Linked DNA regions of Homo sapiens: region 2 is linked to region 1. Evidence: promoter capture Hi-C in 16 types of primary human blood cells and fetal thymus (Javierre and others, 2016). All regions are on one chromosome and are shown on one strand. Each heading gives the region's core, a stretch centred on a gene start or on the middle of the fragment in contact. The rest is flanking DNA. Distances are from core to core; before and after follow the strand shown.

The links. The method cuts DNA at HindIII sites, captures the fragments that hold promoters and counts their contacts. A CHiCAGO score of 5 or more calls a contact.
Region 2: a fragment that was not itself captured here is called in contact with the fragment with the promoter of PMEL in region 1 in 7 of 17 cell types (naive CD4 T cells, naive CD8 T cells, activated CD4 T cells and 4 more); the score reaches 7.9 in naive CD4 T cells.

What each region holds. Positions count from the first base shown.
Region 1 is chr12:55,963,807-55,969,740 of GRCh38, forward strand. PMEL (premelanosome protein) reads right to left here and starts at 2,236. Exons shown (of 11, transcript NM_001384361.1): 1 at 2,130-2,236. The coding sequence starts at 2,205. It overlaps CDK2 (cyclin dependent kinase 2), which reads left to right and starts at 3,024. Exons shown (of 7, transcript NM_001798.5): 1 at 3,024-3,318; 2 at 4,051-4,128; 3 at 4,243-4,363; 4 at 4,972-5,142; 5 at 5,669-5,770. The coding sequence starts at 3,203. RefSeq lists an enhancer at 2,715-2,794. The HindIII fragment of the contact is 16,386 bases long and covers 1-5,934 here.
Region 2 is chr12:55,719,164-55,725,097 of GRCh38, forward strand. RDH5 (retinol dehydrogenase 5) reads left to right here and starts at 1,230. Exons shown (of 5, transcript NM_002905.5): 1 at 1,230-1,354; 2 at 1,990-2,331; 3 at 2,526-2,784; 4 at 4,723-4,886; 5 at 5,159-5,542. The coding sequence starts at 2,022. The coding sequence ends at 5,382. BLOC1S1-RDH5 (BLOC1S1-RDH5 readthrough) reads left to right here. Exons shown (of 6, transcript NR_037658.1): 3 at 1-60; 4 at 2,526-2,784; 5 at 4,723-4,886; 6 at 5,159-5,579. BLOC1S1 (biogenesis of lysosomal organelles complex 1 subunit 1) reads left to right here. Exons shown (of 4, transcript NM_001487.4): 3 at 1-60; 4 at 336-540. The coding sequence ends at 446. It also overlaps a transcript of CD63 not described here. RefSeq lists an enhancer at 1,665-2,293. The HindIII fragment of the contact is 1,627 bases long and covers 1,313-2,939 here.

The sequences.
Region 1 (5,934 bases), core at 986-3,485:
TATGTATTTCAGCACAGCAGAAACTACCCTCACCCCATTTTTCCCTTTCCTGCAGAAACCTCTCTCCCCTCCCCTTCCCTCCCCTCTCCTCTCCTTTCTGTATATAGTTCAGCACAGCAAAAACTACCCTCACCCCATTTTTCCCTTTCCTGCAGAAACTTCCTTCCCTTTCCTTTCCCTTTCCCCTTTCCTTTCCTTTTGATACAGGGTTTTGCTCTCTCACCCTGCGTGCAGTGGCACGTTCATCACTCACTGCAGCCTCAAACTCCTAGGCTGAAGCCATCTTCCTCATTAGCCTCCCAAGTGGCTAGGACCACAGGTGCTCACCACCAAGCCTGGCTAATTTTTTTTTTTTTTTTTTTTGAGACAGAGTTTCGCTCTTGTTGCCCAGGCTGGAAGGCTGGAGTACAATGGCACGATCTCAGCTTACTACAACCTCCGCCTCCCGGGTTCAAGCGATTCTCCTGCCTCAGCCTCCTGAGTGGCTGGGATTACAGGCATGCACCACCACGCCCAGCTAATTTTGTATTTTTAGTAGAGACTGGGTTTCTCTATGTTGGTCAGGCTGGTCTCAAACTCCCAACTTCAGCTGATCCACCTGCCTTGGTCTCGCAAAGTGCTGGGATTACAGGCGTGAGCCACCAAGCCTGGCCTAGGCCTGGCTAATTTTTTTACGTTTCGTAGAGACAAGGTCTCACTATGTTGCTCAGGCTGGTCTTGAACTCCTGGGCTCAAGCAATCCTATGACCACGGCCTCCCAAAGTGCTGGGATTACAGGTGTGAGCCACTACACCCGGCCTCCTTATCTCTTTTCTTTTCTTTTCTTTTTTTATTTTTTTGAGACAGAGTCTTGCTGTTGCCCAGGCTGGAATGCAATGGTGTGATCTCGGCTCACTGCAACCTCTGCCTCCCAGGTTCAAGCGATTCTCATGCCTCGGCCTCCCAAGTAGTTGGGATTACAGGTGCGTACCACCATGCCCAGCTAATTTTTGTATTTTTAGTAGAGATGGAGTTTCACCATATTGGCCAGGCTGGTCTGACCTCAAGTGATCCACCCGTCTCAGCCTCTCAAAGTGCTAGGATTACAGGCATGAGTTACTGTGCCGGGCCTCATCCCCTTTCTTTTTTTTTTTTTTTTTGAGACGGAGACTCGCTCTGTCACCCAGGCTGGAGTGCATTGGTGTGATCTTGGCTCACTGCAACCTCTGCCTTCTGGGTTCAAGTGATTCTCCAGCCTCAGCCTTCTGAGTAGCTGGGACTACAGGCATGTGCCACCATGCCCAGCTAATTTTTGTACTTTTAGTAGAGACGGGGGTTTCACCATATTGGCCAGGCTGGTCTCGAACTCCTGACCTCGTGATCCACCTGCTTCAGCCTCCCAAAGTGCTGGGATTACAGGCGTGAGCCACGGCGCCCGGCCTCATTCCCTTTCTAATGTGTGCTGTAACCCTAGTTGATTCTGCTGGGGGAGGATCTGGAATCATCTATTGAGCATCCCACCACTAGAACAAGAGAAGTCATAAGATACCCCATTCTTTCTCCACTTCCAACTCTCCTCAGAGCAGCACGGGACATTCCAGACCCTCTCACCACCCCACCCCCGCCCCTTGCTCCTGTCACGAGGCCCAATCCCCCAGAGCCCTTTCATGTGATGCTCAGCTGAGACCCCTCTGCCTATCTCTCCAGCCCCAGAACAAAAGGTCTGGGCTGTGTTCACCCGTACCCATCCCAAGAGGAGAGGATTGTATCTCCTTAGTGTTCTTACCCAATACCACATTCTCTGACTCCCCACTTTAAATCTCCTACCCCAAGAGACGTTTCCTAAAAGAGTCTCCTGCACATTTCACCCCTTTGGAGCCCGTGCTCCAGCTCACTGCCAAGGAAGCCTCAGAATCAGTGCCACAGAGACCTTCTATCCTTCTGCCCCTCCAAGCATATGAGATTATTTTCAGGCAAAATCCCAAATCTCCATGTAGGGAGGGAGCCCAGGTGCCCACATCCTCACTAAATCAAATGAGTGGGAGACGCCTGAAATATTGCCGCTATCTCCCATTAGGAGGACAGAAACCAGAGCAGGGGGAATTCATCCCCAAGTTCACACCTGCTCATGTCCACATATCCACACATACCTTTTGTAGCCCCCACAGCCAGCAAAGCACCTATCACAGCCAAATGAAGAAGGCATCTTTTTAGCACCAGATCCATTGTGTTCTTCCCTCCAGCAACCAAAGGCACTGGGGGGACTGGGATAGGCCCCTATATAAGAAAAGGGTGCTCATTTGCATAGCCCTTCCTCTTCTCCCTCAGAGAAGGCCTGGGAGGGGCCGGAGGAGAGGAAAAAGGAAAAACTGACAAAGGGATCCTGGTCCCTAGACATTGCTTTCCCATCCTGCTACTCAATGACAGTTTCTGGTTTCACTGGGTCACTCTCATCTTGATGCACTCCCGGGCAAGAGCTAACTGAAAGGCAGCTGCGTAACACATACCAGACACAACAGTTTATCATGGGAGAGTGAATTAAACCAGGAACTTCTCAAAAAGACAGAAACAGAACCCTGCATCCCAAAACAGAGACAGTGTCGGGGTATGCTATGAGGCAGAGGCAACGACTCCTCTGAGGCCCAGGATTCCTTTGCAACGAGATTCCCGGCTTCCTGGTTTCCAAAGGAGGCTCCTGGGCCAGGTGGAATTTAACCTTAGGTCGATACATATTTTCCCCAGGATTGGTGAAAATAGTGAGTTAGAAATCAAGAAATCCCTACAGACTAGAGACATAGGTAGGAAACTTGGACCCAAAGCAGGTACTTGGGAAGAGTGTTCAGCCGCCCCACCGGGGAAGAAACTTGTCTAGCCCCCAAGAACCAAACTTGCCTGGGGCGGGATCATTTGCGGGGAGGAGCGCTGGGCTCGCCCCCCGGCTCTGACGTTGACCAATAGAAAGGCCTGGGGGCGGAGCCAGGGAAACGCGGGAAGCAGGGGCGGGGCCTCTGGTGGCGGTCGGGAACTCGGTGGGAGGCGGCAACATTGTTTCAAGTTGGCCAAATTGACAAGAGCGAGAGGTATACTGCGTTCCATCCCGACCCGGGGCCACGGTACTGGGCCCTGTTTCCCCCTCCTCGGCCCCCGAGAGCCAGGGTCCGCCTTCTGCAGGGTTCCCAGGCCCCCGCTCCAGGGCCGGGCTGACCCGACTCGCTGGCGCTTCATGGAGAACTTCCAAAAGGTGGAAAAGATCGGAGAGGGCACGTACGGAGTTGTGTACAAAGCCAGAAACAAGTTGACGGGAGAGGTGGTGGCGCTTAAGAAAATCCGCCTGGACACGTGAGTGGCCTCTGTACCCGGGACTCCTAACTGGGGACCTCCTTGATTGTCCCCCCCAACCCCCCACGGGCGGGTAGCCGTCCAGGGACCGGAAGAGAGCAGGGAGGGACTTCTTTAGAAGTGGAGAGGTGGGTTGGGGGCCAGTAGAAGGTGAAGAGTATACTTATACTCCCTGGGGAGAGTATAGGGTGGTGTGGAATCCATGGAAAACTTTCTTCCCAAACTGAGCCGGATCGTGCCCCCAAATGTGCGACTACAGACTCGGGGAGAGAAAGGAGGTCTCTGAGATGAGGTCCAAGACTCTCCATGGAGTGGAGTTATGTGGGAACCGGCGAGAATCGCCTTTCTGAATGAAGAGCCCTCTTCACTGCCCCACCCTCACCTTAGAATTCTCTCCTCTTTCCAAAGAATGGCAGTTGAACCTCACTGGCCCCTCTGGGGAGGCTGGGGGCTACTCCTGCATTTTTTCCCCTCCATTACAGTCTCCCTGCTTCACCTTCACCAGGCGGCTTTACTTACCTACCCCTGGGAAAAGAGGAGATAATGGCCTTAATATATCCAAAAACCACACCCTGACTACCCAAGAATTAGCTCTTACCATCACCCTTTCTCTTCTCTCACTTTCCTAGGGGGTGCTGGGTGGTGTCTCCTTGGGGGAAAGAAATGACTAGGTGGGGGGGAAAGGAATATTTGTAACCATATTCCCATCTCTGCTTTCCCAACCTCTCCAAGTGAGACTGAGGGTGTGCCCAGTACTGCCATCCGAGAGATCTCTCTGCTTAAGGAGCTTAACCATCCTAATATTGTCAAGTAAGTATGCGTCTGAGAGGTGATCCAGCTGGAAAGGAGGATAAGTTCTGTCTGTACAGTGTGGGCATTTCTCTCTCTCACACACCTCCATTTCCTCAAACTTTCCTTCTCTAGGCTGCTGGATGTCATTCACACAGAAAATAAACTCTACCTGGTTTTTGAATTTCTGCACCAAGATCTCAAGAAATTCATGGATGCCTCTGCTCTCACTGGCATTCCTCTTCCCCTCATCAAGGTAATGCTTCTCATCAGCTCCTCTCATCATGGGCATGTCTTGGGGGACTGGTGGCAGGCAATTCAGGGTGATATTTTATGATTTTGGCCTCCTTCTGAGCCCTCATCTCCTATACACACACACTCCCCTTCTTTTTGTGTCTCCTTCCCTGCTCATTATATTCATTAACCCTAGGGTTGGACTGAACAATCAAAGTTGAAACTCTAGTGAGTCAACCTAGCAACTCAGGTGGGAGGTCAGATGAAACTCAGATAAACGGGATTTGAGAGCACTTGGTAAATTCCTCCAAAAAGCCCTTCCATTTGGTGGAAGACCTAGCTAGTGAGTCCCTATTGTCTATTTTAGGGCTGGATTCTTCACTCCCAGAGCTACTTTCAATCTATTAACAAACATTTTTTCAATGCACAGGATGTAGAAAAGGGATGGAAAATTGAGTAAGACTTGGTCCTTATCCTCTCTGGGCTGACAGTCCATTGGGAGAAATAGCTTGTAAATATGTAACTATAATCCAACATAATAAAGGCTTTAGTAGAGTTTTAGGGGCACAGAGCAAACCCAGTCTGCTCACTGTAATGGAGAAACACAGTCCTCTCTTTCTCCTTTGTCAGAGCTATCTGTTCCAGCTGCTCCAGGGCCTAGCTTTCTGCCATTCTCATCGGGTCCTCCACCGAGACCTTAAACCTCAGAATCTGCTTATTAACACAGAGGGGGCCATCAAGCTAGCAGACTTTGGACTAGCCAGAGCTTTTGGAGTCCCTGTTCGTACTTACACCCATGAGGTGAGTCCCTTTATGTCTTTTTTCTCTGAGCTTCCCAAGAGGTGTTAACTAGGGTATTCACAAAGTTACTAAAAATATCTGGCTAACAGTTTCTTACTAGGTAGAAATAATCTCTTGACATCCTAAAGAGTCTTAGGGTATGCATGGAATTCATACTGTGTTGCTAACTGGGCCCACACCTGTAATACCAATACTTTGGGAGGCTGAGGTGGGAGGATCACTTGAGCCCAGGAGTTCGAGACCATCATGGGCAACATAGCGAGACCCCATCTCTACAAATCTACAAAAAGAAAAAATTTAGAAATAAAATTATGACCAATTTGTCTCAAGTTTTTCCAGGAAGATCTCAAATTAGGGGTTCAGTCCAGAACTATGGACTGGAAATCAGTGGGAGGGGAAAGATGATGGAGGGAAGGAAACTGCTTGTTAAGAGGCCAAGAGTAAGCAGAGTAGTGTTGAGGAACTGAGATGCGGGAATTTCCATACCCTATAAACCACCCCGCCCCTCCCTATTCCCGTCCCTCAGGTGGTGACCCTGTGGTACCGAGCTCCTGAAATCCTCCTGGGCTGCAAATATTATTCCACAGCTGTGGACATCTGGAGCCTGGGCTGCATCTTTGCTGAGATGGTATGGAGGCTTGCCCAAGTTCCACCCAGCCCCCTCCCTCTCCTCCCCACATCCAAGAACAACAGAACTGCTTCTTGGCCCAGACCTATGGCCCTTCTATCACAGGGTTCTCTCTCTAAAGTAGCACCAAGGGGAATGGTGGGAAAGGATGCAACTGTTGCCCT
Region 2 (5,934 bases), core at 876-3,375, 240 kb before region 1:
TTTGCCAAGCAGACAGGCCAGTGGATCGGAATGGTGGAGAACTTCAACCAGGCACTCAAGGTGGGCCATACTCCCTACCTCACCACCCCAATCCTGGGCCCCCATTGGCTGCCTCCAGTCAGGTTACCTCAGGTTTAGGTTAAGGAGGAAGTAGGGTGGTCCCAGAAACCCCATCTATAGCCCCAGTGTCAGAAAAGGTAGAGAAAGAAAGAAAAGCAGTTGGTGGGTCCAAGTAAAGCCTTTTCCAGGAGATGAATAAAACGTATTCCCCAGACTGGAAGCCATACTCTACCCATTCTGATTCCTGGGCTCCCACCTCCTCTCCCCCTTCCCAGGAAATTGGGGATGTGGAGAACTGGGCTCGGAGCATCGAGCTGGACATGCGCACCATTGCCACTGCACTGGAATATGTCTACAAAGGGCAGCTGCAGTCTGCCCCTTCCTAGCCCCTGTTCCCTCCCCCAACCCTATCCCTCCTACCTCACCCGCAGGGGGAAGGAGGGAGGCTGACAAGCCTTGAATAAAACACAAGCCTCCGTTTCTCTGTGGTGTGTTTCAGAGAGCTACTAGCTCCAGTGTCGGGGGTGGGAGTGGAAGGTTCAAAGGTGGTTTCCCTGAGGGACAGGTACCTTTTGGGGAGAGGGTGGAACTAGCTTCCTCTTACTATCCCAACTCTCTTCTCCTCCATGGCCCTTGTGCAGGTGTCTGTTAGGCAAGCAGAGGGTGGGAGTTCCCATCCCTCCTGAGAGAAGGTCCTAGTAGCCCTGCCCCAAGCTTCCTAATTCAGGACTTGTTTCCTACAGAAGAGAAACAAGGCAAGGTACAGGCCTGGTCCCCAGCTCTGGCTTTCTGCCTCTCCACGTGCTCATGGCCTCTCCCAGGCTAACTCTAAGCAGTGTCATGAGTCTGAGCCAGGTGGGAGATTAATTCCTGGGGGCACTTCAGGGCTGAGAAGGGGGAGGAATGACAGGTCCAGTAACCGTTACCAACAGAGCAGTGCAGCTGCCATCCTTGACAGCTCCCTCCTCCTTGGAGACCATGACATAGATGGTCAGGAACCCAGGCTGAGAAAGACAGCCAAGGGGTGGGGGGAGCCTAGGCAAATCTGGCCTCTGCCAAGTCCTGGCTTCAGCCAGGCAAGCTCCAGCCTCCCTGGCTCCTCCTCCTCCTCAGTCCTATCCCCACCCTGTCACACATACACTTAATACGCCTGGCATCCAAGTCCACCCACTCCGGACTTTGGCCTTAGCAGTAGTTAGTGTGGGAGGCTGGGAAGACTGGGAGCAGTCTCTTAAACAAAAGCAAAAGAATAAGCTTCGGGCGCTGTAGTACCTGCCAGCTTTCGCCACAGGAGGTAAGTGGATACTGGGAGCTGGGGGAACTGAGAAGACTAGCCAGATATTACATGTATTGCCAACTCAAAACTTTCAGCTTTTAACATGCTTCCTCACACATTATCCCCTTTGATCCTCCACAACTCTGAGGTGGACCTGGTGGGTCTTAGCCCCACTTGGTAGATGAGAAAATAGGTTGAGAGAGACAGTGAGATGCTCAGTATCACACAGCAAACCTCTTGGCCCTATACATCATTCCAAACACAAGACCCAGGTTGCATATAGAAGGTTCAGTGTCCCTGGTTTAGAAGGAGAGGTGGTGTGAGGCAAGCAAGAAGATGCCTCTGCTGCACTCCAGCCTGGGCGACAGAGTGAGACTCCATCTCAAAAAAAAAAAAAAAAAAAAAAAGATGCCTCTGCTCCATACAGCAGGTCTGTACACAGGATCTGGCTCATGTGGTTTTAGTTAAGTTAGCCACAAATACAGGGTCTGCCCACATCTTTGCTTTGAACAGATGAGCCATGGTTGGCCAATTATCTGCCAACCAGATAATTTCTCAATATGCTCACACCAGATGCTTCCAGCTAGGGAGGGTATTAGGGGAAAGGGCTTGAGGGCCACAGTAAACTGGACAAGTTTTTCTGCCCAGCCTAGGCTGCCACCTGTAGGTCACTTGGGCTCCAGCTATGTGGCTGCCTCTTCTGCTGGGTGCCTTACTCTGGGCAGTGCTGTGGTTGCTCAGGGACCGGCAGAGCCTGCCCGCCAGCAATGCCTTTGTCTTCATCACCGGCTGTGACTCAGGCTTTGGGCGCCTTCTGGCACTGCAGCTGGACCAGAGAGGCTTCCGAGTCCTGGCCAGCTGCCTGACCCCCTCCGGGGCCGAGGACCTGCAGCGGGTGGCCTCCTCCCGCCTCCACACCACCCTGTTGGATATCACTGATCCCCAGAGCGTCCAGCAGGCAGCCAAGTGGGTGGAGATGCACGTTAAGGAAGCAGGTAAGTATGGTAGACCACCAGGAATATGGTGTGGGGTGTCCTGATCCCCACAGTCACCCCAGGAGTCACCTGCAAGGGCTGTGGTAAGCTAAAGGGACAATTTGAGGAGAAGCAGTTTTCAGATGCTCCCAGGAAGAAGAGGGAGCTGTGGGAGTGCCTCACCTACCCCCAGCATCCTTTTCATCTCCCCACAGGGCTTTTTGGTCTGGTGAATAATGCTGGTGTGGCTGGTATCATCGGACCCACACCATGGCTGACCCGGGACGATTTCCAGCGGGTGCTGAATGTGAACACAATGGGTCCCATCGGGGTCACCCTTGCCCTGCTGCCTCTGCTGCAGCAAGCCCGGGGCCGGGTGATCAACATCACCAGCGTCCTGGGTCGCCTGGCAGCCAATGGTGGGGGCTACTGTGTCTCCAAATTTGGCCTGGAGGCCTTCTCTGACAGCCTGAGGTGAGGGGTACAGGGCTCTGGGTTCCAGGACTAACAGCAGCCCACTCAACAAACGTGGGCCAGCAGAGGTGGTTAAGATACAGCACATTGGAATAGTTAAGAAGAGACAGTTTAGGGCTAGACTTCATGGGTTCAATGAAGTCTACCCTTATGTAAGCTTTGTGACCATAAGTAGATTACTTCTCTTTACCCATTTTTAACGTGTTTGTTTTTTGTTTTTTGAGATGGAGTCTTGCTCTGTCGCCAGGCTGGAGTGCAGTGGCGCGATCTTGGCTCACCACAATTTCCACCCCCGGGGTTCAAGCGATTCTCCTGCCTCAGCCTCCCGAGTAGCTGGGACTACAGGCATGCGCCACCATGCCTGGCTTATTTTTGTATTTTTAGTAGAGACAGGGTTTCACTATGTTGGCCAGGTTGGTCTCAAACTCCTGACCTCGTGATCCGCCCACCTCAGCCTCCCAAAGTGCTGGGATTACAGGTGTGAGCCACCACGCCCGGCCTTGCCTCTCGTCTTTAAACAATAAGGTTCAAAGTTCCGTGGGAGCACAAAGGAGACATGATGAGGACAACGGGAGTAGGGCCTGAGTTTTTTTTTGTTTTTTTTTTTTTAAGCGTTTTGCTCTTGTTGCCTAGGCTGGAGTGCAATGGCGAGATCTCAGCTCACTGCAACCCCTGCCTCTCAGGTTCATGTGATTCTCCTGCCTCAGCCTCCCGATTAGCTGGGCTTACAGGCACGTGCCACCACTCCCAGCTAATTTTTTTGTATTTTTAGTAGAGATGGAGTTATACCATGTTGGCCAGGCTGGTTTTGAACTCCTGACCTCAGGTGATCCACCCGACCCGGCCTCCCAAAGTGCTGGGATTACAGGCATGAGCCACCACACACGGCCCAAGGCCTGAGTTCTTAGCAGGAGTATAAGGCGCCTAAGCTTAGTCTACCTTCTAAGGAAGCCTGCGTTTGTCACCATCACTCAGCAAATAACCTGAATGTCTCCTGTCTCTCAGCCTTAATTTTTCAGGCAGCATCATGGGACACATACTTTTAGTTTTGAGACAAGGCCTTGCTCTCACCCAGGGTGGAGTGCAGTGGTGCAGTCACGGCCCACTGAACTTCAAACTCCTAGGCTCAAGCAGCTCAAGCGATATCCGCCTCAGCCTCCTGAGTAGCTGAGACCACAGGCGCGTGCCAGCATGCCTGGCTAGTATTTTTTTACAGATGGGGTCTTGCTGTGGTGACCAGACTTGTCTCCAACTCCCGGCCTCAAGCGATGCTTCCGCCTGGGCCTCCCAAAGTGTTGGGATTATAGGTGTGAGCCACTGCATACTGGAACACATACTTTATACTTGAATTTTTTTTTATCCCCTTCCCTCCTGCTCCTTACCTATACTTGGATTTCTACATCTGTGCCAGGGCAGTGGGATGTATCCCCACTTTCCCCATCAGCTTACCCTCCAGCAAATACGAGACTATACCCTTCAATATCCAGCACTCAGGGCTCAACCATGTGTTTTGGGAGCAAGGGAATGGGGTTCCTCTAGGTCAGGAATCGGCAAACTCAGTACTCAAGCCAGATCTGGCCAGCTGCCTACAAGCTGATAATGGTTTTTTTTATTTTTAAATGGTTACATTGTAAACTGTTATATAAGTACCTGATAATATCATTAATTTTGTTTCTTGGCCTGCCATGCTTAAAATATTAACTCTCTGGCCCTTTAAGAAAAAAACGTGCTGACCCCTGCTCTAGATCAAAGAAAACAAACCTCAAAAATACTTTCCTCCCTCTACCCCACTTGACCCTTGTCCCGGGGCAGTAGGCATCTCCGTCAAAACTCTTGTCCCTGGTCTGTGGTAACTTTCTCAGCTCCCCAACCCATGTCCCTCAAAGTCCCCTCCCTATAGGGCAAGAACCCAGCAACTTCGCTCTGCCCCGACTCTAGGCGGGATGTAGCTCATTTTGGGATACGAGTCTCCATCGTGGAGCCTGGCTTCTTCCGAACCCCTGTGACCAACCTGGAGAGTCTGGAGAAAACCCTGCAGGCCTGCTGGGCACGGCTGCCTCCTGCCACACAGGCCCACTATGGGGGGGCCTTCCTCACCAAGTGTGAGTAGCCAGGCCCACACAGGGGCACATGAAGGGAAACAAGTACCAGAAAGGCCAGTCCTGCATAAGCCTGCTAGGAGGTGGGTGGGGCACCCAGGGCAGGGTTGAGGGTGAACAGGATGTTACAAGAGTGCCCAGGCCATGTGGAACCTGCCCACTCCCCACACTGAGGAGGGGACTGAGGGTGACAAGCCCAGGGCCCCAGAAGACAGTACCTAAGATGGGCTGGAGTGAGGAAGGGAAACTGATTGCAACCACCTATGGGGCTGCAGACCTGAAAATGCAACAGCGCATCATGAACCTGATCTGTGACCCGGACCTAACCAAGGTGAGCCGATGCCTGGAGCATGCCCTGACTGCTCGACACCCCCGAACCCGCTACAGCCCAGGTTGGGATGCCAAGCTGCTCTGGCTGCCTGCCTCCTACCTGCCAGCCAGCCTGGTGGATGCTGTGCTCACCTGGGTCCTTCCCAAGCCTGCCCAAGCAGTCTACTGAATCCAGCCTTCCAGCAAGAGATTGTTTTTCAAGGACAAGGACTTTGATTTATTTCTGCCCCCACCCTGGTACTGCCTGGTGCCTGCCACAAAATAAGCACTAACAAAAGTGTATTGTTTAAAAAATAAAAAGAAGGTGGGCAGAAATGTGCCCAGTGGAAGGCTGACCCCATTTAAGTGCCAACTACTCCAAACCGACATGCTCACGGTCTCTGGCCTGTTCAGTCCCTGCAAAACAGCTAGCACCCACAGTGGGGCGCCAGGGAACTGCCTCACATCTACAGCTGCACGTCGGGGAGTGGCCATCAAAGGGCACTTTAATACATTTCCCTTATTTTCTGAAGGGGAGTAAGGTTGCAATTCAGTGTCTGTACTGGGAATGGTCTTCATATTTCTTGGGGGAGAAGAGCAGGTGATGAGGGTTCTGGGCCAGGCTGGGTGGCTTCCATGGAAGAAAAGGCAATATTCACATAAATTCTCCTGCTAAGGACACTGACCACACAGGTGTCAAGGCAACTTATCATACTTCGAAAGGAGCTGGATCCCTTGAGGA